6 separate regions of the Homo sapiens genome follow, and regions 2, 3, 4, 5 and 6 are each linked to region 1. The links are contacts of gene promoters, found by promoter capture Hi-C in blood cells and fetal thymus (Javierre and others, 2016). All regions are on one chromosome and are shown on one strand. Each heading gives the region's core, a stretch centred on a gene start or on the middle of the fragment in contact. The rest is flanking DNA. Distances are from core to core; before and after follow the strand shown.

Region 1 (3,969 bases), core at 1,076-3,575:
ACTTATTATAAGCAGGGTGATCTCAGTTGTGCACTTCTCTTTGTAGCTGGAAAAAAGGGCTCATCCAGGGACTTAGCAGCCATGTCTCTTTTCTTGTCTTCCTTAGGGAACTTGTGCTTTCTCTTCCACTGCTTGTGTTCAGTGCACTCCATGCCCCCTTCAGTTGGCTAAGGTATGCCCAAAGGCCTGGTCTACAGTGGTCCAGCAAATGCCTCTTTGAGCCTTTGCCTCCCTCACTCATTCGGCCTGGCTAGCTCTCTGACTTTTCCTCCAATACACCTGTACATCTCTGTCTCTTTCTGCCTTCCTCCACCCCATCTTTGTCTCTGTTTCTCAGATGCTCATCCAGTGATCCATATTTCCATCAAAATATAATAAACCCAAGGTATTTTTATAGGGATTTTCAGAGATCTTTACTTATATCCAGTCAGGTGGAGCTTGTACAGACCCAGGTCTGCATGAGTCCTCATAGCTGAGACTTTAGTCTTTTCCCCGTGCAAGCTTGTCCAATGATTTGGGGAACCCGAGATTAGAGACATCAGAGGATATGAAGGGCAGAACCTTTCTGGATAGGTGGGTGATGGACAGGAAAGCAGGGGCGAGGAAGATGTCTCTTATAAAGCTACAAAAGAAGAAATACCCTAGACAAAGGAGGAGGTTTCAGAAGGGGACACCAGGGTAGGGGCAGGGGTGTCAGAAAGGGTCAGTGACACATCATCCTAATTCCGCAGAGAGTGAGCTTGCTTGTTCTCCTTCCCACCCACCTGCAGAACTCCAGATTTTCAAGGGCGTCTCTCAACTGTTTAGCCATGAATGCTGGTTACAGGGAAGTTAAGACCCCTCTCCAGATGCAATATGTCGTGGCAGTGACCATGGATTTAGCTGTAATTCCAGTCTGGTCAATCTCACTGGGCTGCAGTGAGAGTAAACAGAGGTGAAGCCTGAACAGACCTGTCTGAACACGAATGAAAGGGAAGCTGGCTTCTGCAACAGAGGAGGAGGAGAGCACACACTTAAGATGCAGCAAAAGAGCATGCTTTGGGGAAAAATTATTACAAGAAACAGAAGCTCATTTTAGACAGCAACTGTGTTCTACTCCCAATGCAAGAAAACATGAACTCTGAAATGAGATAAAAAATGGGATTGTAAATTGGCTGAGCCACAGTCAAAAATAAAATGGAAGCTGGGGGAGGTAAGGAAAGAATATAAAGAACCTGAAATACAATTGCAGAAGTTCCTTCTCCACTTCAAGCAGTCAAAGGAAAGATTAACCATACAGAAATCATAGTTGTTCCAATACAGGGAACAAACTTGAAAACCGCTCCCCAAATACACCGAGAATGAGAAGAAGATTTAAAAAATACTGTGGGAGAGGATGATAGTTATGTAAGACAGAGATAAAAGATTTAAAATAATAGTGATTGGTTATCTTAAAGACCTCAGAGCAATTCAAATGGACACAATAAGCAAAGAGAGATCCAAAAAAATAAGTGCCCTATACTGAAAGATCTATCAAATAAGTCAAAATATAATTGCTGACATTTTAGGTTTTGAAAAAAAAAATTAAAGTGATCTGAAATATCCAGAGAGAGAAAAACAAAGCAGACAAAAAAAAAAAAAGTCCTACCTGGTGTTGCACTGGGGGCTCTTGAGTGGTTTCAGCTGACCGGCTTGCCCAGGGGCAGCTTCTCCCCTTCAGTTACATTTGTGTCAAAGGTGAGTCTCAGACACTGTCTGGTAGGAAGGAAAAAAAACATTCTGTTCTTGGACTTTTCTGCGATATTAAGAAGCAAGAAGGCAATGAAGAACATTGGTAGAATTTTGGGGTGGTAAGACCATGATGCAAGAATTCTACACTTATCAAATGGTGATCCATGTATGGAAAGAATAAAAAGTATTTTCTGCTGGGCAAGGGTTCAAATAATACACCATCCGTGTACTCTTGGCTGGGAAAAAAAGTGAAAGATGAACCCTTCACATTCTACAGAGAAATCAGAGAATCTGACAAAGAGGAACTCAAGGCTTAGGTGAGCACAGAGGCTCTTGAAATGAGAAGGTGTCTAAATAACTTTTTCAAATATAGTTACCAAAAATTGCAAAGGGTAAATGATGAGGTTAAGTGCGCTTAATTTTCTTGACTGACTTATTGGAATTTCAACAGATCCTGCATAATCCTTGACTCGGTATGTTAAAAAGCATACATGAGGGCAATATTCCATCAGAGCCCAGAACAAACCTCATGCAGCCCCAGACAAGTGTCCATGGCTGTTCCCAGGTGATCTGGGAGACTTCACCTCCTGCCTTCACTGGTGTATCCAGAGACCATGGGAAGGATCAGCCACTGACTGACGTGTTCGACCTACGGTCGGGCCTCCCCGTGCCTTCATCTCGGTGGCTAGAGTGTGCTCCCCAGAAAGCATGCAGGGCTACAACTGAAGTGGAAGAAAACCGCAGCGGGTCATAGTGTGTCTTCCTTGTGTGATGAAGCCTTTGTTCATGGGCGTGTGTCAGTATGCCAGTGACATGGTCAGGACAATTGGGAAGGCCTGAACTATTGGTTCTAATGTTGCAGTCAATACAATGTGATTAACCAATTAGAGAGAAATGCATAAGAGCCAAATTCTGTTGCCAAGAAAAGGCAAAGAAGGTAGAAGAGCTGCCCTGTTAAGAGATAGAGGTAGAAGTTCAACCCCCAAGGCAATAAAGGGCCACCATGGGACACAGCCTTGCAGAAAAGAAGGAATGGCCATCAGGGTGGGGTGGATAGGATCATGGGAAATACACATTCTCATTCACGGAGAATGTGCCAGGCTGCCAGCCCACCGCCAGGGGCTGTATGGACGTCATCTCATGCACTCCTTTTCCTAGTTGGTGTTTACTGAGAGGCAAAGAGAAGCCAGATAACTTTCCCAGTTACTGGACTTGTAAATGACGGCACCAGTACTGGCACCTGCCCATCCCCTTTCAGTGTGTGTCAGTGGCCACTCCCATGATTAGGAGAGATATTTGTCAGGGAGTGGGGCTTGACCTGAACCTGGAAGAGTGGGTGGGTGGGACATGAACAACCAGGTACAGGGCAGGGGCAGCAGCAGAGGGAAAGACTTCATGCAGCTTTGCTGATGTTATGGCTGCATTCCTTCCTCCTCCACCAGACTTGGCACTTGCAACTGATCAGACAGCAGGTACCTAAAAACTCTCACTCCCCTAAAGGGAAATGAGGAGAAGTTAGAGTTACCGCAGACATCAAATATTGTATATCCAGTTGTTTTAATGAAATGAATCACATTTACACCCATCTTGTCTTTGAACTTCAGTGGCTGTCTCCACGTGGCTATGTGACGTGACAACCCCAGTGAGCACATTACAAAGGAAGAAAGTCCCCGCCAATGCCACGTGAAACACAGGGTGAGGGCTTCGTTGCACAGGAAGAAAAACGTCCATATTTCTCGGTCACACCTTTCTGTCTCTCCACTTCTGCCTGGGTTCCTTCTCGCCAGTGTCCCCACCTCTGCCCCCTGCCAAATTTCAGTGACATGAAGATCTCGTTTATGTGCCAGGCTTGTCTCAATAAACATTCTCCTAGCAATTTTAAAGGAACAAACTTTCCATATTAAAAACTTTTGTGGTTCTCAGGGTAAACAACTGTGGGTATCAGGAAGACCTGAAGAAATGGGGAATCTATACAAAAGGAAGGCAAAGTCCACTGCTGAGAAATGTGGTTTCTCTCTGTAAAACATGCTGACAGAAGCCCATATACTAATTTAGAGAAACAGTTGGCACAAAACAAGATGCACAGTTGAGCGTGCCTGTCTAGAAGGCTGGGAAGGAAAGAACTTGAGTGAAGGCACCACCAGGATTCCTGTGGCTATAGCCCCACGGAGACTCTGCTGGCTGTGATTATAATCATCAAGCTTTGCAGCAAATGATTGTGATTTTACACATCCTACCCTTTTTAAAAAACCAGAGATT
Region 2 (3,969 bases), core at 461-2,960, 490 kb before region 1:
AAGGGAGATCCAGAAATTAGACCTGCTTAGCTTCCTGGACTGACCCCTTCTCAGCCACAGCGGCTGTTTGAAAGCACCCTCTTCCACCACCAGTGAGACTGCGTAAGTGGTGGTGTTTAAAGTAGTTCGACGTTCGAAGGGGCTGCTTATTAATCCAGCATTAGTCACGGTAGTTAAGCTTTTAGAGATAATGAAATGTAAATGTGCCTCCAGGACATGCCGCGTTTCCTGAAACTGAACACATTCGTGAAGAAAAATGGTTGCGGTAAGATTATGAAGAGTATTAATTGTATGGATTTACATACTCTACAGATGGCAATGCAGATGCTGGGGACAGCCAGGAGCCATGCCAGAAGCAGGCAGAAAGAGGGGCCGGCCTTTCTCTGCCCTTCCTGTAGAGGATGCTGCCTCAACTAGATACCAAAGCTTTTCTGCTGGAGTTTGTTTGTGTGTGTGTGTTTTATTTTTATTTTTAAGAGACAGGGTCTTGTTATGTTGCCCAAGCAGTCCTTAAACTCCTGGGCTCAAGCAGTCCTCCTGCCTTGGCCTCCCACTGGAGTTTTATGAGTGGAGAAACAGAGGGTCAGAAAGTTTAGAAAACCTGTCCAGGGCCACACAGGAAGGAGAGGCAGAGCTGGGCCACAGGCCTGGGCAGCCTGATTAGGCACTGGCTTCACCAGCTGCCCGCAGAGCGGCTCCCAGGGTGCCCTGTCCATCTGTGTCCCCGGTGGGGGCTTCAGCGCATCACTCGGCATCTATCCTGACCACTTCTCTCCTCTACAGCCCTCTTCCACCAGGACAGTGACGCTTAAAGTCAGAAGAGCCAGTGATGATGATTTTTAATCAACAGGTGTTAATTACAGAGCACCTGTGCATGCCAGGCACCATGCCAGGCTTCAGGTTCTGTTCATCTTGGAGCTGACATCCCAGCAGTCAACAAATCACCACCAAGTAGATGCGCAGCCACCACGTGCGAGAAGGGCTGGGCAGGCAAAAGAAGGAGAGTGATGCGAGATTAGAAGTGATGGTAATGATAACAACAGCTGACACTGGTTATTCGCTGCGTGCCCCACACAATTCAAAACATTTAGAGGGGACGACATTGTCCTTTTATCTTCATAGCAACTCTATGGATTAGCTTTGCTTTAAGACGAGGATACAGGTAGAGAGCGATTAAGCAGCTTATCCACGGTCCACAAGCAGGTGAGCAACAGACCGGGATTTGAACCAGGAAGTCTGACTCCAGATCCCCTGCTGTCCAGCACTGTGTGTTATTGCCTCTTACAGAAGAAAAGTAAACTAGGATTACTCAGGAAGCAGGGAAGCCTTGGCAGCGGAGGGCATGCTCACACTGGACCTGGGAAGTAGTTGGCCATGTGCAGGCGGCAGGGAGAGGGGAGTTCCAGGAGGGGAGCTGGGAGTGGGGGAAACCACAAGAAGGGAAGAGCTGGGTGCCTTGAGGGAGCTAACGGCTTCCTTGGGGCTGAGGCTGGGAGGCCAGGCCAGTGGGGTACAGCTCACCTTCACGGAGGCCCCTGGGGCTGTTGAGCTGTGAGTCCTTATCCTAAAAGCCACAGGAGGCTGGGCCAGATTTCTGAGCAGGGAAATGGCAAGAGTGATCATTCTTTCTGAGGAAATTCCTCAGTGAGGGGATGAGCCCTGCCCCCACTTCTGTGCCCCCATCAGCTTGGGAAATTGACATTTGGTATTTGGGGAGGGCATTGAAGTCAAGGGCAGTCTGGGTGCAGCACAAGCATCTGTTGGCTTGCACAGTCCGTTTCCAGACTTTGAAGAGGGAGGGAAGAGCCTGGCCACATCACCTTCCGAGGTGGTGTGGTGTGCAGGAAGGATGAGAGACCAGCCAGCCCTAGAGCTGTGTGTGTATGTGTGTGTGTGTGTGTGTGTGTGTGTGTGTGTGTGTATGTGTGACGCCTTCTGAGACAGGACAATTGGTGAATGCATTAGCATTGGCATGCACATTAATCTTTGAGGGAACTGCAGCCCAGCCATGGCTTATTGGAAAGATTATAGCCCCGAGGAAAGACACACATTGGTTAGTAATGACCTGAAGTTTATGAGTCCCAGGACCACTGACTCTTAGTGGGGAACGACTATTTGTAGTACAGAAGGAAGTGCCCCTTGGTGTTGAAAAGGAAAAGGCTACAGTGCATAACTTGGTGACTGTCACACACTTAAAGCAGAAGGAGATGGGGACTGAGGAAGTGTCTGATTCTGCCCTACAGTGGGATTCTCTGGGGGAAGATTTTGGTTGGTGTGTTATTTTGTCAAGCTCCAGGAGAAGGCCAGGGTCTCAGTGACCAGAGTGGGTCGAGAGCTGGGAATGTACAACACACATTTTCCTAGAAAATAGAAATACCAGCTGGGCATGGTGGCTCACACCTGTAATCCCAGCACTTTGGGAGGCTTAGGCAGGAGGGTCACGAGGTCAGGAGATTGAGACCATCCTGGCTAACATGGTGAAACCCCGTCTCTACTAAAAATACAAAAAATCAGCCGGGCGTGGTGGCGGGTGCCTGTAGTCCCAGCTATTTGGGAGGCTGAGGCAGGAGAATGGCGTGAACCTGGGAGGCGGAGCTTGCAGCGAGCCGAGATCGCACCACTGCACTCCAGCCTGGGTGACAGAGTGAGACTCCATCTCAAAAACAAACAAACAAACAAAAAAAGAAAATAGAAATACCTCCATGGTACAGTTGAGGAGGTGAGAGGATGTGAACACACCAGCTATAAGAAAGTATGATAGGTGTTCACAAGAGGGGTAAGTCCAGGAGGGCTTCCTGGAGGAGGCAGGCATTGAGCTGGATTCCGTGACTCTCAGGACAGTGATCATTAAAACCTTGAATGCCTCAGCAGAATGGCCCAACCTTAGGGAAAGGTCCCACTTCTGTTAGATCCTCACGAGGTTCCATGAGCTGAGGTTGAGATAACAGCTCTCGAGACCAAGTCCAGGCTTCTCCTCTTGCTGGCCAAGCTTTGGGGCAGTGGTTCCCTACCTGTAGCTCTAGAGTTCCTCCATGGGAAGGAGAGGCTCAGGGCAAGGGTCTGTGCAAGGACGGAGCTAGAGGACTAGCTATGTTTGTGTGGCGCTTCACATGTGCAGGGAAACATGGGCAACTGTCCTATCAAGAGTGGGGGCACTGATAGAGCTGTGGCCCCAAAGACACCCCCAGCCACTCATGATCTCTGCCACCGTTCTCAGGGTCTGGTCTGAAGCCGTTGCTGGGCTGAGGGAGGCTTACCAACAGCAGCCCTCTCTCCTGTGTCTATGTCTAAGAACACAGGCTCGCATAGTTTGCAACCCACCAAGGGCTGTTCTTGACCCAGAACAACCCCTCATTCTTCTATGTCTGCCAAATTCCAGCCACCCTTTGGGACTTTTTCCCAGTCCTTCCTTTTGCACTCCCTAGAAGCTCCACAAGAGCAAGGGTTCCTGACTTCATTCCTTGATGTTTCCCAAGAGTGTAGAACAGTGCCTGGTGTGTAGTAGGTGCTAGGGAATATCTGGGTAATGAATGAATGAGACTTTCCTCTCCCTCCAGCCTTGGAGGTCCCATGGGATTTTTACAAACCCCAGCTGGCATTTATTGAGTTCATTCCTGTAGTGGTTTAATAGTATCCTCCCAACATTCATGTCCATGCAGAAACTCAGAACGTGACTTTATTTAAAATAGGGTCTTTTCAGATGTAATTAGTTACCATCTTGAGATGAAATCATCCTGGTTTAGAGTGGGCCTGAATCCAATGACTAGTCTTATATGAAGAGGTGAAGACACAGAGTACATACAGAAGAAGGGCCTGTGAGGGTGGAGGCAGAGATTGGAGCAATGCATCTAAAAGCCAAGGAATGCCAAGGATTGCCAGCTGCCACCTGAGGCTGGGAGAGCCACTGGGCAGATTCTCCCTCAGAGTCTCCAGAAACAGCCAACCCTGCCAACACCTTGATTTTGGACT
Region 3 (3,969 bases), core at 560-3,059, 470 kb before region 1:
TGGGTGGTTCTGGCTCAGGGTCTCTCATGAGACTGCTGTCAAGGTGTCATCCAAGAGCTTGACTCGTGGAGGGCCCACTTCCCAACTCAGGTTCCCTGGCTGTTGGCTGGAAGCTTCAGTTCAGTTTGTCACGTGGGCTTCTCCAGTGGGCTGCTCACAGCATGGCAGCTTGTTTCCCCCAGAGCAAATGCTGAGAAAGAGAATGAGAGTGAAAGAATGCAAAGTGAAAGTCACAGCCCTCAGTTTCAGAAGTGACATCCTGGCCAGGCACGGTGATGCAAGCCTGCAATCCCAGTGCTTTGGGAGGCCGTGGTGGGAGGATTGCTTGAGGCCTGAACAACCTTGTGAGACCCTGTCTCTCCAAAAACATAAAAATAAAAAATTACCTGGGTGTGGTGGCCTATGTCTGTAGTGCCTGCTACTCAGGAGGCTGAGGCAGGAGGATGGTTTGAACCCAGAAGCTGGAGGCTGCAGTGAGCTATGATCATGTCACTGCACTCCAGCCTGGGCAACAGAGCAAGACCCTGTCTCAAAAGAAAATAAAAGAGTCTTCCTTCCTTCCTTTCTTCCTCCCTTCCTCCCTCCCTTCCTCCCTCCCTCCCTCCCTCCCTCTCTCCCTTTCTTTCTTTCTGTGGTCTCCCTCTGTTGCCGAGGCTGGACTGTACTGCCGTGATCTCGGCTCGCTGCACCTCCCTGCCTCGGGCTCCCGTGATTCTCCTGCCTGGGCCTGCCGAGTGCCTGGGATTGCAGTCATGCGCCACCACGCCTGACTGGTTTTTGTATTTTTGGTGGAGATGGGGTTTCGCCGTGTTGGCTGGGCTGGTCTCCAGCTCCTGACCTCGAGTGATCTGCCCGCCTCTGCCTCCCAAGGTGCTGGGATTGCAGACGGAGTCTCGCTCACTCAATGCACAAATGTTGCCTAGGCTGGAGTGCAGTGGCATGATCTCGGCTCCCTACAACCTCCACCTCCCAGCCGCCTGCCTTAGGCTCCCAAAGTGCTAAGATTACAGCCTCTGCCCAGCTGCCACCCCGTCTAGGAAGTGAGGAGCGTCTCTGCCTGGCCACCCGTCATCTGGGATGTGAGGAGTGCCTCTGCCCGGCCGCCCATCGTCTGGGATGTGAGGAGCGCCTCTGCCCGGCTGCCCCGTCTGGGAAGTGAGGAGCGCCTCTGCCCAGCCGCCACCCCGTCTGGGAGGTGAGGAGCGTCTCTGCCTGGCCGCCGCCCTGTCTGGGAAGTGAGGAGCGCCTCTGCCCGGCCACCCCGTCTGGGAGGTGGAGAGCGCCTCTGCCCGGCCGCCACCCCATCTGGGATGTGAGGAGCGTCTCTGCCTGGCCGCCCCGTCTAGGAAGTGAGGAGCACCTCTGACTGGCTGCCCATCGTCTGGGAAGTCAGGAGCGCCTCTGCCCGGCCGCCCCGTCTGAGAAGTGAGGAGCGCCTCTGCCCAGCCGCCCCGTCTGGGAAGTGAGGAGTGCCTCTGCCCAGCAGCTGCCCTGTCTGGGAAGTGAGAAGCATCTCTGCCCAGCCGCCCCGCTGGGAAGTGGGGAGCGCCTCTGCCCGGCTGCCCTGTCTGGGAAGTGAGGAGCGCCTCTGCCCAGCCGCCCCGTCTGGGAAGTGGGGAGCACCTCTGCCCGGCCGCCCCGTCTGGGATGTGAGGATTGCCTCTGCCTGGCCGCCACCCCATCTGGGATGTGAGGAGCGCCTCTGCCTGGCCGCTGTGCAATCTTCCAAGTGCGAAGTGACAGACTTTCTACAGGTGTACCCAACAGCTCCGAGGAGACAGCGACCATCGAGAACCGGCCATGATGACGATGGCGGTTATGTCGAAAAGAAAAGGGGGAAATGTGGGGAAAAGAAAGAGAGATCAGATTGTTACTGTGTCTGTGTAGAAAGAAGTAGACATAGGAGACTCCATTTTGTTCTGTACTAAGAAAAATTCTTCTGCCTTGGGATGCTGTTAATCTATAACCTTACCCCCACCCCGGGCTCTCTGAAACATGTGCTGTGTCAACTCAGGGTTAAATGGATTAAGGGCGGTGCAAGATGTGCTTTGTTAAACAGATGCTTGAAGGCAGCATGCTCGTTAAGAGTCATACCACTCCCTAATCTCAAGTACCCAGGGACACAAACACTGCAGAAGGCCGCAGGGACCTTTGCCTAGGAAAACCAGAGACTTTTGTTCACGTGTTTATCTGCTGACCTTCTCTCCACTATTATCCTATGACCCTGCCACATCCCCCTCTCCGAGAAACACCCAAGAATGATCAATAAATACTAAAAAAAAAAAAAAAAAACCAGTAAAAAAAAAAAGAAAATAAAAGAGCGACATTCTATCATTTCTACCATACTCTATTTATTAGAAGCCAGTGGCTAGATTCAACCACACTCAACTCAAGGGGAGGGGTTTCCATCGGGGTGTGAATACAGCAGGCAGAGATCATTGGGGATCATTTTAGAAACTGCTTACCCACCCACTTTACAGGTGGGATAGCTGTAGTCCAGAGAGGTTAAGCTAGTAAAAGATAGAGCTGGGGTTTGAATCCAGCCCTGGGTGAGCTCAGAGCCCACCTTCTTAACCATTTTGCTGTCTTGCTTTCTTGAGCCTACATTATTTAAACACTTTTGCTGTCCTCAGACCATTTGAATGGCCCTCCTTGGTGTGCTGATGGCCCTCATGTACACCTCGGTCCTAGGATGGGCCTCCCTGCACTGCCATAATTGGTTTCTTCTCTGTCCGGCTAGATAGGATGACAAGCCAGGCACAAGACAGATAACTGAAAGTAAGGAATGAAGGCATGGGCTCAGGAGAGTTTGCTATTTAAGGAAGAGTGTCCTGGAAACATGGGGCCACAGGATGAGGAGTCCTTCCCTGATGCGTAGGAGCATGCGCTGACATTGGATTTCTGTGTTTGGCTATCTCTGTGTGGGGCTTTCCTGGGCCCTTAGAAGCTCACAGCTTGGCAGCTTCCTTGACCTGCCCTTCATCTCTCCTGTAGCATCTCTTTGGACCCCAGGGCACAGTGGCAGGACAGAGCAGTGTCCAAAAAAGTTCAAGGCGAATGGGTCTTGAAGGGCCCATTCTGGGAAAAGGAGAGGGCAGCAGTGTCCTCTGGACACAAGTCAGGGACACAAGTGGTGTCTATTGCGCATTGTCCACGTGGGAAAAAGCTCAGGGATCCCTAGAAGGTTGATGGCTTCCTGCAGGAGTGAGGAGGTATTTCCCCATCATTGATTCAGCACGGTGCTGTTGCCTTCTTCCTAAATGCCATCTGCTGGGAGCTTCTAGGACAGTGGTTTTCAAAGGATCTGGACCAGCCGCATCAGCCCCACCTGGAACGTGTTAGATGTGCAAATTTTCAGGCTTTCCCACCCAGATCCAGAGTTAGAAACTCCAGGCACGGGGCCCAGAAATCTGTGTTTTAATGAATCCTCCAGGTGATTCTGATGTGGATAAAATCTGAGAACCATTGCTCTAGGCAGTTTTTCTTTAAATCCTCCCAAGCTTTTACATTTTTAAAAATAAAAATTTCCCAAAGCAAAAATGTTCAATATATAAATGTTGGAAGATCCAGGGAAGCACAAAGAAGAAATTTTAAATAATCTGCAGATTAGTATTAATTTTTTAGTGCATATCGCTTCATTATTATAGGTATATGTGTATATTTATAAATGTACCCAATTTTGAAGAAGATTGAGATTTTACTATAAATATTGTTGTGTATGCTGCTTTTTAAACATTTCTCCAAGTCTTAAACATTGTCCCACTGCACCATTTATGCATGGCTGCGTAGTATTCCATGGTTGGAATATACCATCATCTGACCAATCTCTGGGACTGATGCAATCCGTTCCTTGGAGAGGGAGATTGTGAACTCTGCTCAGATGTGTTTACAACACAGACAGATGGTGAGTAAAACCAATTAACCTCTCCCTCCTCCTGGGCTAGGAGGGAAGAACAGCTAGGAGGATAG
Region 4 (3,969 bases), core at 395-2,894, 330 kb before region 1:
AATAGGCCATGGACTGGTACTGGTCTGTGGCCCAGGGGTTGGGGATCCCTGCAATAGAGAGCTTCAACAGCAGATTTGATCAAGCAGAAGAAATAATCTGTGAACCTGAAGATAGGTCTTTTGAAATCACTGAGTCAGAGAAGAAAAAAGAATGAAAAACAGTGAAGACAGTCTATGGGACTTATGAGATACCATTAAGCAAACAAGTATTTGCATTATGGGAGTTACAGGAGAAGAGACAGAGAAAGGGACACAAAACTTATTTAATAAAATAATTACTGAAAACTTCTTAGGTTTTCAGAGCGATATGAACATCCAAATTCATGATGCTCAAAGGTTCCCAGATAGATATAGCCCAAAGAGGTCCTCTCCAAGACACAAAATCAAATTGTCAAAAGTTAAAGACAAAGGGAGAATTTTAAAAGCAGCAAGAGGAAAACACCAAGTCACATATAAGAGAACCTACATTAAACTATCAGTATATTTCTTAGCAGAAACCTTACAGGCCAGTATAGAATGGGATGATATATTCAAAGTGCTAAAGGAAAAAAAAGACTGTCAGTCAAGAATACTATACCCAGCAAAGCTGTCCTTCAGAAATGAAGGAGAAGTAAAGTCTTTCCCAAATAAGGAAAAGCTGAAGGAATTCATCACCACTAGTACTGCCCTACAAGAAATGCTTAAGAGAGTTCTTAAAGTGGGAATAAAAGGACAATAATTACCATCATGAATATATATGAAAGTATAAAACTCACTGGTAGAGGTAAATGTGTAGCCAGATCCAGAAAACTATAATACCGCTGGTGTATAAATCATATAAATTTCTATTATGAAAGTTAAAAGTCAAAAAGTCATCAAAAATAAATAAAGCTACGATGAGTTGTTAAAGAATATACAATATAAAAATATGTAAATTGTGACATCAAAAACAAATTGTTGTGGGTAGAGGGTAAAAAAGATGGGCAAAAGGTATTTGAGCAATTGTTTCACACACAATAAATATGTGAGTGGCTAACAAACACATAAAAAGATGTTCAACAGGATTAATCACTAGGAAAATGCAAATTAAAACCACAGAGAGGAGAAGCTGGTTTCGAGTTCTGGCCAGTGGCAGGCAAAGAGTGGGCACTGGTGACTGCTAGATGAAGCTTGCTCATCTGAGAAGGCCCAGTTCTTATTCAATGGATAATGGCATTTGAGCTGATGCCAAAAAATAATTGGTATAGCATTTTTGGGGGCACACCCAAATGTGTCAAACCTAAAACAAAAGTATAAAAAACTTACATTAAAGCAGCATTCAGATTAACAAAGTACAGATGTGCCAGCAGGAATAGTGGAGGACTGTATACAGAAATTCATTGAAATTGATCAGGCGTGGAAAATTCTAGGGAATGAAGAGAAAAAAAGAGTATGATCCTCAGTGGCATGAAGATGATCTAAGAAATATGGAACCAGTAGATGCTCAACTATACCTTGAAAAAGTGCCTTGGAAAAAAGATGATGACTCTTTTTCCCCAAGTAGCCAATGTGGTAGAAAACACAGTGTTTCCAAGGATGAAGCAGAGGAAGTTAACCTATTTTCTTGTGATACATGTTCACTAATTACAGAACTTCTTCATTATTGGTAAAATTCTTCACTACTTGGAATCCTTGTCCTGTGTATTTGGACATGGTGAGGAGAGGCCATCTGAGCTTTGACAATTCAAGGGAATACATTCTATTGTTGTTAGCCCTATCATTTTCAATGAAAATATGATTGTCAAGCAAAGTCCACCTCAGATTAATAGAAAACTAATTTAGTTATTTACATGTATTGATAGTTTGTATTTACAGGTTGCCACAAAAAGAACTTGAATTACAAATTATATTTAGTGCATTCCAAAGGACTTTATTATTTCATTTTCTCCTTGATACAAAATGAGAATTTTCTTTTTCCTACTATGAGCATCTCCTTTTTTAGTGGGTAACAGTATCATTGCATTCCTTTATAGTTACTAAGTTTCTGATCTAACAGATGATATTTCTTGCTGCTAAAGTTATAGGCCTGTTATACACCTATCTCCAATTCTATGGTCATTAAACTTAAATTAGAAATCTTTGTGGATACGTGTGAAGCCAGTTCTCCCATAATGAAGCTTGAATATGGATATTCATGAGGTTATTTCAAAGTTCATAAAGAAAGTGAAGTGGCAACTCTAGGAAGAAAAATAGCTTTAGAGTCAGAAGACTTGACTCCAATCTTATCCTGTATTTCCAAAGCTCATGAATACTGCCATCTTCAATTTAAATGTAATATAGGACATGGGAGCTTTATAAAAATAACTGAAAATTGGCATACTACTTTTCTTTTTCAGAGTATTAAGATATAGTATTAATGCCTATATTTATAAATAAGGAACTATTTCATTGCTAATATAATCAAATGGACTTTTTTTTTTTTTTTTTTTTTTAGATGGAGTTTTGCTCCTGTTGCCCAGGCTGGAGTGCAATGGCGTGATCTTGGCTCACCGCAGCCTCTGTCTCCCGGGTTCAAGCAATTCTCCTGCCTCAGCCTCTTGAGTAGCTGGGATTACAGGCATGTGCCACTACGCCTGGCTAATTTTTTTTGTATTTTTAGTAGAGATGGGGTTTCCCCATGGTGGTTAGTCTGGTTTCGAACTCCCGACCTCAGGTGATCCACCTGCCTTGGCCTCCCAAAGTGCTGGGATTGCAGGTGTGAGCCATCGCGCCTGGCCTCAAATGGACTTTTATAATGTATTATTATTGGCCATAGCAGACTGTAGACCCCTTAAAGATTTATTTTTCTATATATTTAATATTCTGTGTACAGTTCAAGTAAGAACTCATTTAAATAATTTTAAGGGATCCTTTACAGAATCACTGAAACTTTTTACTTCAAATGTGTGTACTAAGCATGTAATTTAGCAGCTTTTTCTTAAGTCCAACTCTTAGCAGTGTCAGATTGGATTTGTAAGTAAGAATAATTACTACTCTGACTTGTAAATGTAGCCAAAGCATAAGAGATATTCAAAAACAGAAGATTACTTTCACTATATGTATAAAACCAAAAATTCAAAAGTGAAGCAGTCATCCAGGTTTTCCCCCCAAAATATTTTTATATCTATCATAAAGTTAAATGACTTATTTTGGATTACATTTTATTTATATATTTTGAACTAATATAGCTTGTAGAATATATGTTGCTTATTCTTTACATTTAGCAATTAAAAAGAACTAAAACTGAACAGCAAATAGCTTATTGGTATGTACATGGTTTCAATGGCAGTAATACATTTACTTGAATAGGAGGTAATAATCAAGTCACAAGAGTAAATGCTTGCTAATTATGTGAAAATCTGTGGCCGTTAGGGCTGTCACATAGAAATCCAAAATCACTCAGAGGCCAAATCTGTAAAATCAAAATGTGGTTGAAGACAATTAATAAAAATGATGTTATGACATCATCATATTTCCCTTTCTCTATTTCCTTTTTCCCTCTTCTCCCTGTCAGGTAATTAAATGCTTTCTTTGTCAATCAAGAATAAAATTTTCTACGTCAAAATAAGACATTAGAAAATAAACTTGCATGAGTATATGTATTTAAACTCTAAAGTTTGGAACATTCAGACATTATACAATAAATTACATGTGTGTAGTGTGTGAAGACCTATGCATGAGTAAAAATAAAGCCACAAGGAGAGACCACTACATACTCTTTAGAGTAGCTACAATGAAAAGAATACTGGCTAAGCGCAGTGTCTCATGCCTGTAATCCCAGCATTTTGGGAGGCCGAGGCAGGCGGATCACGAGATCAGGAGTTTGAGACCACCCTGGCCAACATAGTGAAACCTTGTCTCTACTAAAAATGTCAAAAATTGGCTGGGCATGGTGGCACACACCACTCGGGAGGCTGAGGCAAGAGAATCGCTTGAACCCGGGAGGCGGAGGTTGTAGTGAGCCAAGATTGT
Region 5 (3,969 bases), core at 1,082-3,581, 310 kb before region 1:
TTTTTGTATTTTTAGTAGAGACGGGGTTTCACTATGTTGGCAAGGCTGCTGTTGAACTCCTGACCTCAAGTGATCTGCCTGCCTTGGCCTCCCAAAATGCTGGGTTTACATGCATGAGCCACCATGCCTGGCTCTCACCTGGTTTTTCTATTCAATATGGAATGTCCCCCTGGGGCAGTCAACCTGGTCAACCCTGGACAGTTGTCAAAATTATGATAAAGACACTGTCATTTCTTATCTACACAAAATGGACCTAATTTTCCGCCTGCGTCTGAATGAGCAGAGAGAGGCCCGTCCTTCTCAAGTCCGTGGGGGCAGTTCTGCCTTTTTGTCATTCGACATTATCTGTGCATGGAAGATTTGGAGTCCTATGGAACTTCCAAATGAAGGCCGGGAATAACTTCTTTCTAAATGTATACCTGGGTCCCTTCAAAGACTCATCTTCACACTCCATTTAAGCCTTAGAAAGCCCAGTGAGGTAGGTCATGTGTTACCCCCTGAGTGGATGAGAAACCCGAGGCCCTGAGAGGTCACATGGTGGTTGGGATGGCAGAGCAGTAATGAGAATGAGCTGCCTGGGTTCACCTCTTTTGGCTCTGCCCCTTGGGGGCTGTTTGCAGTAGGTTTGGGTATCATTCCTGGGGCTGCACTCCATCCCGGAATACAGTGATACATCTGTGCCCTTGGCATAGGCAGAGCACCTGCCCCATCAGGCACACTCACCTTGCCTGTTGGAGGATGAGCAGACCTGTCGTGAGCAGAAACTTTTGGTGTGGTGGTTTGGTGTGGTGGCTTGGTGTGATGGTTTGGTGTGGTGTTTGGTGTGATGGTTTGGTGTGGTGCTTTGGTCTGATGGTTTGGTGTGGTGTTTGGTGTGGTGGTTTGGTGTGGTGCTTTGGTGTGATGGTTTGGTGTGGTGGTCTGGTGTGATGTTTTGGTGTGATGTTTTGGTGTGGTGGTTTGGTGTGTGGCTTGGTGTGATGGTTTGGTGTGGTGGCTTTGTGTGATGGTTTGGTGTGGTGGTTTGGTGTGGTGACTTTGTGTGATGGTTTGGTGTGGTGGTTTGGTGTGATGGTTTGGTGTGGTGGTTCAGTGTGGTGGTTCAGTGTGATGTTTTGGTGTGGTGGTTTGGTGTGGCTTGCTCTCTGATGCTACTCGATGTGTGGTTGAGGAAGCTCATCCCACCTGGCTGTTGATCCTGCAGCAGGGGCCTGAATGAAGACCGCGGGCAAATGTGAATCTGACAAGAAGTCTGGAGTTGAGTCTGGTACAACCGAGCCCAGGCTAGATTAGCTAAATTGTAGCCAACCTGCAGACCTGGAAGAATGAATGTTGTGTAAGGCACTGGGTTGTTTTTTTTTTTTTTTTTTTTTGAGATGGAGTCTCACTCTTTCACCCAGGCCTGACTACAGTGGCGCTATCTCGGCTCACTGGAAGCTCCACCTCCCGGGTTCACGCCATTCTCCTGCCTCAGCCTCCCGAGTAGCTGGGACTACAGGTGCCCGCCACTGCACCTGGCTAATTTTTTGTATTTTTAGTAGAGACGAGGTTTCACCGTGTTAGACAGGATGGTCTCGATCTCCTGACCTCGTGATCCTCCCGCCTTGGCCTCCCAAAGTGCTGGGATTACAGGCGTGAGCCACCGCGCCCGGCCATGGCACTGGGGTTTTTGAAGCTTTTGGTTATACAGTGAAAACAGACTAGCACTACTCCCTGGGGAAGTACCTAACTCTTCTGAGCCTCCATTTCTTTATGAATAAAATCAAAACACTAACACCAACCTCGTAGAGCAGTTGTGAGGGTTAGCTGAGGTAAGCACAGTTCTCGGTGTGTAGTAAGTACTCATTTCTGAGCAGGTGGAGTTTCCTCGGGGTGGTTTTTGATGCAAATGGTCCTTATAGCAGAGGGGGAGTGCCTGGTTTTTAGGCAGATGCTGATTCTGGCTAGTTTTGTTTCCTCCTGGCTTCCCAGCTCCAAATGGCCTGACTGGCTGAAGCAAGTGGAATCTAGCACAGATTCCTCAGGCCCTGTGTGGACACTGGTGAGCCTAAGTGACATCATACCAAGTCTCATGGTGAGGGCACCTTCCTTCCTCTTAGCTGTTTTAAATGTCATACTCTGCCCTCAGAAAGGAGGGGCTGGTGAGAGGGCTGGAGTCCAGAGGCCTGGGTTGTAGTGGGCCCTGACCTCCAGGACACCATTGACTGCCTCTCCTTCTGGCTGTATTGAGATGCTGTCCCTCAAGGCATTGGCTTGTCACTGTCATCCTATAAGCGACAGGTCAGAGCAGTTCATACTGTGGCTTCAGGAATAAATTTGCTTCTCTGAATAGAAAGCAAAGGTGGTGTACCTGAGAGCCGTGGGTCTGTCTCCTTTGAGGGAAACCCACCAGGTCTCACAGAACCACTGCCCGGCCTCCCGAGGTCTCGTTGTATTTTGTAGCTGTCAGCCCTTCCAGCCCAGAGGGGACTTTGGCCATTGCTGTGAGACGCTTGAGAGCTCCAGATTCTCAAGGAGCCTTTTAGGACGGTCCTGAGATCTCCTCACTTACCTAACAGGGAAAGCATCTCCCATGTATGGAGCCCTGTATCTTTGCAGATGCTGTGCCAAGCACGTTACACGCATTATCACTTGTAATAGTCATGCATTATTGCATGTAATGGTCACGCATTATCGCATGTAATGGTCACACATTATTGCACGTAATCATCATGCATTATCGCATGTAATAGTCACAACGGCTCCATCATGTTTGACAGAAGAGCAAATGGAGGCTGACAGAGACAGTGCTCCCCACCCACCCCACCAAGGTCACCTGGCTGATAAGTGGCAGAGTTGGGATTTGGACTCAGGTCTGTGATTCACACTGTACTCTTCATTGCCACAATGACTGTCCCTGTCTGTCTGTCCTTCCTTCTTTCCCTGGAGTCTGTCTGGTGAGGCTCAGCCCTCAGTACAGATGCTCTCCTGCCATCTCTGGAAGCTTCTGGCAGCCCCTGGCTTCTGGATCTTTTCCTCCTGTCTCTGGGGGTGCTGCTTGCTGCTGCCTGAATGATTTTTCGACGCGAGCAGGGTGTGGGTTGTTAAGTAAGGGTATGAAGTAGTTGCTTCCTCCCTGTGGCTTTGACTTTGATAGTCAGGGGTCAGAGGAAGCTTGCTCTGGTTTCTTTTATGAAAGCCACACATTCACAGTGATGCTTAATAAATCCTCATGGAATTGAATTGGGAAAAAAGAATCTGCCCTCCAGAAAATGCTAGAACCCAAGTAGAAATAAAGCTGTTCTATTGAGGATAAAGACTTGGAGATAAGCCCTCATCTATGGGAGCTATCTTTTTGGGGGTACTTCCCCTGGTGACAGGGACAGACACTGGGGGAGTACAGCGGGCACGTGCCCTCCAGCAGGAAATTATCTGTTGAGAATTGCAACGGGTCCTGGCACCTTGCTGATTTTGCCAGGCCATGCTGGTGGATAGTCTCACGTGAGGTTGGGAAAGTGGTGACCCTTCCTTGGGCCATGGCAACGGGCCCTCACTTTCCCCTGCCTCTGAGGGCCAGAGCCTGCAGAGGGGACTGCTGAAGCCTGCCATCTACATGGAGCTTTCTGTCATACCAGAAGGGGCCCATTTCAGATTGACTTTATAAATTCAGCCTCTTAAAAATAAAGAGATTCTAGCAAGTGGGGCTTCAGTTTTCACTCCTCATTAGCTGTTGATGTGTCTTGGGTTTTCTTGGGAAATTCATGCAAATGGAGAAGGTGGGGTAGAGACTGTCTTTTCCATTGCTTCCAAGACAGAGAGGATGAATGTGTATATTTGTCATTGGGAAGAGGTCAGCATGGTCTGGGGCAGGGGGAGGAACCTGCTGATCCCATACTGTGGCTGCCCAGTGTGGCTGGTGGAGAGGCTGCATCTGGAGAGTGGGCGCTGAATTGGGCAGGGCCGTGTTTCACCCGGGGTTGCCTGAGTTGA
Region 6 (3,969 bases), core at 1,008-3,507, 280 kb before region 1:
TTTCTTGACACCTCCATAGATGCTTTGAACCCTGGACAGAAAATGTGTTCCCCTCACCTCTGCTGTCTCAATTGCATTGATTTGTTGTCTTTAATCTTTTCTCTCTCTCCTTCTTTTACTTCAGTTAGCACTGTTGGTCTTGTCCTTTGGACAAAGTTCATTTATTCACTCATACATTCATGAATAAGAGCATGGGCTTTGGAACCAGATAGATATGAGGTTTAATTCTAACTCAGCCACTGTATCAGTCAGGATGGTCTATGCTATGCTGCAGTGATCATCCCAAATCGCACTGGCTTAAACCAAAAATGGGTTTTTTCACTATCATGTTTCATGCCCATCATGAGGTGGCTGGGGGCTGTGCTCCAAGTCACACTGAGAGACCTGGGCTGTAGGAGCCATCACTATCTACGGCACCACTGAGTACAGTAGCAAGAGAAAGCAAACATTGCAAATAATACATTTCATAATAGTCTTTTTCCTGGAAGTAATACACATTGCTTCCGCTTGAGTTTTATCGTCCAAAGCACATCCCAAGACTCTCTCCTCAACTTTAACCTCACCAAGTGCCTGGAAGGAGAACCAGGATATTAACAAACAGCTCTGCTGACTAAAAGCCATTGCTAGTTGTACGACCTTAGTGTAAAAAGTAAAGTAGAGGTTCCTCTTCAAAGGCTTTCCTCCCCATCTAATTAGGAATAAATAGTAACTTCTCTTAGAAGCAAAATTTATTCAAAGACCTGTGGTAACATTCTTAAATATCTGCTAGCCATAATAAAGAAATCAATGTACTTTACGTTCTTAGCCCCCACAATTTAGCCTAAATATTTGCCCTGGCATGCTTATACTGGTCCAAGCAAGCATTAGGTCATAGCCTGTTCCTCTTCCTTATTTGAACATGTTTTTACCTTTCTCAGCATTCCACAAGTTACTTCCTCCTTCCTTTGTTTTCCTCTGCCTTTGCCTCTTTTAAAATGTTCTAAGTTGCTAGCCAATCAGGACAAATATAGAATGTGAGGTCCCATTCCAGCCAATGGAAACCGGACACAGCAGTAGAGTGGATGCATCAGGTTATAAATGACCCTGTCTCCTTTGTTCGGTGTACTCTTGTGGCAAAACTGCTGGCGAGTGTACCCTTTCTGCAGAAAGTAAAAATGGCCTTGCTGAGGAAATTAAATTTATGTTCAAGTGCTATTTCTTTATGGCACTGAGGAACAAGCATTTGTAACATTATATACCCATGAAACTTGCTCTAACCTTTAGTTTTACCTACAAAATAAGGATAATAACAGCATCTATCTCTTTGGTTGTTGTGAAGATTAAAAGAGATGGTGCATGTGTATCTGTTATGTAGTGCTGTGTAGCAAACCATACCAAACTTGAGCGGCCTAAATGACAAGCATTTACATAGATTGTTTGCAGTTTGACAATTTAGGCAGGGCTCATCTGGACAGTTTTTCTGGTCTTGGTGGGGCTGTCTCATTCCTGGGTTATCAGCTGTCTGTCATCAAGGGAACTCTGCTCCCAGAGGCTGTCTGCCATCAGCTGGGGCACCTCGGCTGTCTTTCACAAGGTCTCGCCCCTTAGCAGGCTAGTATTGGCTTATTTTCATGGAGCAGGCAGGAAACCAAGAAAGCAAAAGAATAGTAGCCTTGATGTGCCTAGGCTTGGAACTGGTACAACATCACCTCTTCCTCATTCTATCTGCCAAAGAAATTTCATAGTCAGCCCAGATTCAAAGGATCTGGAGATGGAATCCAGGTCCTGATGGGTAGAGATGTGAAGCCACACCCAAAAGGTGTAGATATGGAATTGGAGCCATTTGTACAACCAGTATACCAGTCTGCCTTCTGATCAAAATTATTCACATCCTTCTACACGCAAAATGTACTCACTCCCTCTGAAGACCCTCAAAGTCTCATCCCATCCTGGCCTAATGCTTAACATTCAGGATCTTATAAAATCTACATAAAAATCCAGATGGAGCACTTTTTGTTCTGGAGACCCAGTGAATGAGAGAGCAAAGTAATCTGTCTCCCACACCCTCAGCATGTGCTGATGAGACAGGGACAGCATAATAGCAATAAACTCTCCTGTTTGAAACAGGTTAGTTACTACTCCATAATAATTCTGAAATCCCACAGGGTGGAAATGTTGCTGGGGCCCCCAACTCTGGGGTGAAAAGTATTCCTTGATTAGACCACTGTTCTACTCCCTGGAAATGATGCCCCAGTCCAGTGTGTCCACAGTTCTTGGTTCCACTCCCCGGGCTCTTGGCCTTGCCCACGCTTTCCTTTGTGTCACACTCCATGGCTACTTCTGAAGACATGGTTGATGTAGACAGCTTAGTAGTTTTCTCAGCCTGTTTTCTGGCCATAGAAAATTAAGGATCCAGAGGTCCTTTTGCAATTTGAACAGACTCAGTTTCTTTTAGCCCAGCCTGGCAGTACTTTTACCAGTTCAATTCATATTAAAAACACTGTGGAGTTTCTATGTATTTTATGATAGCCACCTCATGCTCAGAAAGGCACATCCACAATTTATGTCAAATATCCCTCTCTCTCAGCTGATTTACTGCTATGTTGACGACGGAAAAGGGTGTGTTGTCGGAGGGAAGGACATGGGTCCTACAGCAGTGTGGGCATCTTGGGAGCGGAGCGTGTAGCAAACACAGGGGTCTTGAGGGAATGTGGTGAGGGAGGCCTGAGACAGGGGCAGGACTCACATCTCATGCATCTAGTGACCCCAGGCTAGGATTTGGGTCTTTATCTTGAGGTTCATGGAAACTCTTAATGACTCTTATGCTAGAGAGCAGAGAGGCTCAGCCTAGCACTTCAGAAGTCCCTCTGGTTGCAGTGCGGGGAGGTTAGCCTAGGGCATGGGCTGGGTGGATCTGTGGTCCTGGGAATAAACTCACTTTCCCTGAGCTGGGCTGTAGAAGGCAGAGGCACTCGCAGCCTCAGAATTATTGACTCCACCAGGGCTTATCTCCTCTGGACTCGCTTGGTTCTCAGTTGGTGTGTGAGGGTGGATATTTGAGGTAACGTAATAGCAGCATCCTTTGCTAGTCCCAGATGCTCCCAAGGAGCCTGGCTGAAGGAGGCAGGTGGGTCCTCAGCCACACCACAGGCTGGTGCTGCCAAGCCGAGCTGCTGGGGGCAGGGCACACTTCAGCCCTTGCTGACCGGAACCTGGCAAGACACCTCCCTGGCTGAAGGATGTCATTTTCCTGTGAACTTCTTCTGTTTTCAATGATTTAGACAAGAACACAGAGCATGTTGCCCTCCTGAGCACTTTTGGTCAGGCTGTGAAGAAGTGCTCAGGGAGGATGAGCCCCCGGGGTGCAGGGTGGCCAGCCTGGAGCCTGACTGTCCACCTCATGCTCCCTCTTGCCCCCCCATCTCAGGATTTGGGGCCCTCATCTGCCCCACCTGCTCACCAGGAAGAGCTGGGTCTCCGTAGCTGACCCCTTGGGGAATGTGGATTTTAGAAGAGAAGCCAGGGAAGAACCTGGCATGTCCAGCTGTAGTGGGTGAGCTCAGGCTGTTGAAGAAGTGATTTTGGTGAAGGGATTTTTCTGGTGTTCCCTAAATCCCATCATTGAAGCATCCAATTATGCTACCTCTGTGAGGCTGGAATTATTAAAATATCCTGAATTGTGATGCTAATAGCAAATTTGCTAAATGGGAATGAATTTTTAATATCATAATTTGCTTTTTCCTTTTTATCTGATTCCTTTTCTTTCTAGATGTCACTTCATAAGAGTGAATGAAACTTGGAAACATTTCTTGCCCTTTCTGCTTATGACATATTTCATCAGATTTCTCCACATCTCAGAATTTTTCAGAATTCATCTAATGCACTATGCCTGATGGGCCTGGGCTCATTTGTTTTGGTGACGTCTGATCTCACACCCGAAATCACCCCTCCATGGGCAGCCTTAACCCCCAGCTTGACGATGTCACAAGA

Evidence for each region. Contacts are between HindIII fragments. The CHiCAGO score rates a contact against its expected background, and 5 or more counts as called.
Region 2: a contact is called between a fragment that was not itself captured here and the fragment with the promoter of CTB-3M24.3 in region 1, in 4 of 17 cell types (endothelial precursors, M1 macrophages, M2 macrophages and 1 more). The highest score is 9.6, in endothelial precursors.
Region 3: a fragment that was not itself captured here is called in contact with the fragment with the promoter of CTB-3M24.3 in region 1 in 4 of 17 cell types (endothelial precursors, total CD8 T cells, naive CD8 T cells and 1 more); the score reaches 13.2 in endothelial precursors.
Region 4: a fragment that was not itself captured here is called in contact with the fragment with the promoter of CTB-3M24.3 in region 1 in 3 of 17 cell types (endothelial precursors, erythroblasts and M1 macrophages); the score reaches 7.9 in endothelial precursors.
Region 5: a fragment that was not itself captured here is called in contact with the fragment with the promoter of CTB-3M24.3 in region 1 in 1 of 17 cell types (endothelial precursors); the score reaches 5.4 in endothelial precursors.
Region 6: a contact is called between a fragment that was not itself captured here and the fragment with the promoter of CTB-3M24.3 in region 1, in 1 of 17 cell types (endothelial precursors). The highest score is 5.1, in endothelial precursors.

What each region holds. Positions count from the first base shown.
Region 1 is chr5:133,386,238-133,390,206 of GRCh38, reverse strand. CTB-3M24.3 (a long non-coding RNA gene) reads right to left here and starts at 2,325. Exons shown (of 3, transcript XR_948794.4): 1 at 2,237-2,325; 2 at 1,628-1,734. All of the region lies in intron 4 of FSTL4 (follistatin like 4), which reads left to right. The HindIII fragment of the contact is 3,410 bases long and covers 504-3,913 here.
Region 2 is chr5:133,879,227-133,883,195 of GRCh38, reverse strand. No RefSeq gene overlaps it. Among named protein-coding and RNA genes, the nearest start is that of WSPAR, 32 kb to the left of the region's middle. The HindIII fragment of the contact is 2,563 bases long and covers 429-2,991 here.
Region 3 is chr5:133,855,492-133,859,460 of GRCh38, reverse strand. No RefSeq gene overlaps it. Among named protein-coding and RNA genes, the nearest start is that of WSPAR, 56 kb to the left of the region's middle. The HindIII fragment of the contact is 3,387 bases long and covers 116-3,502 here.
Region 4 is chr5:133,718,154-133,722,122 of GRCh38, reverse strand. It overlaps a transcript of FSTL4 not described here and the pseudogene LOC101060035. Among named protein-coding and RNA genes, the nearest start is that of FSTL4, 110 kb to the right of the region's middle. The HindIII fragment of the contact is 987 bases long and covers 1,151-2,137 here.
Region 5 is chr5:133,697,285-133,701,253 of GRCh38, reverse strand. It overlaps a transcript of FSTL4 not described here. Among named protein-coding and RNA genes, the nearest start is that of FSTL4, 87 kb to the right of the region's middle. The HindIII fragment of the contact is 1,308 bases long and covers 1,678-2,985 here.
Region 6 is chr5:133,668,727-133,672,695 of GRCh38, reverse strand. It overlaps a transcript of FSTL4 not described here. Among named protein-coding and RNA genes, the nearest start is that of FSTL4, 58 kb to the right of the region's middle. The HindIII fragment of the contact is 7,771 bases long and covers 1-3,969 here.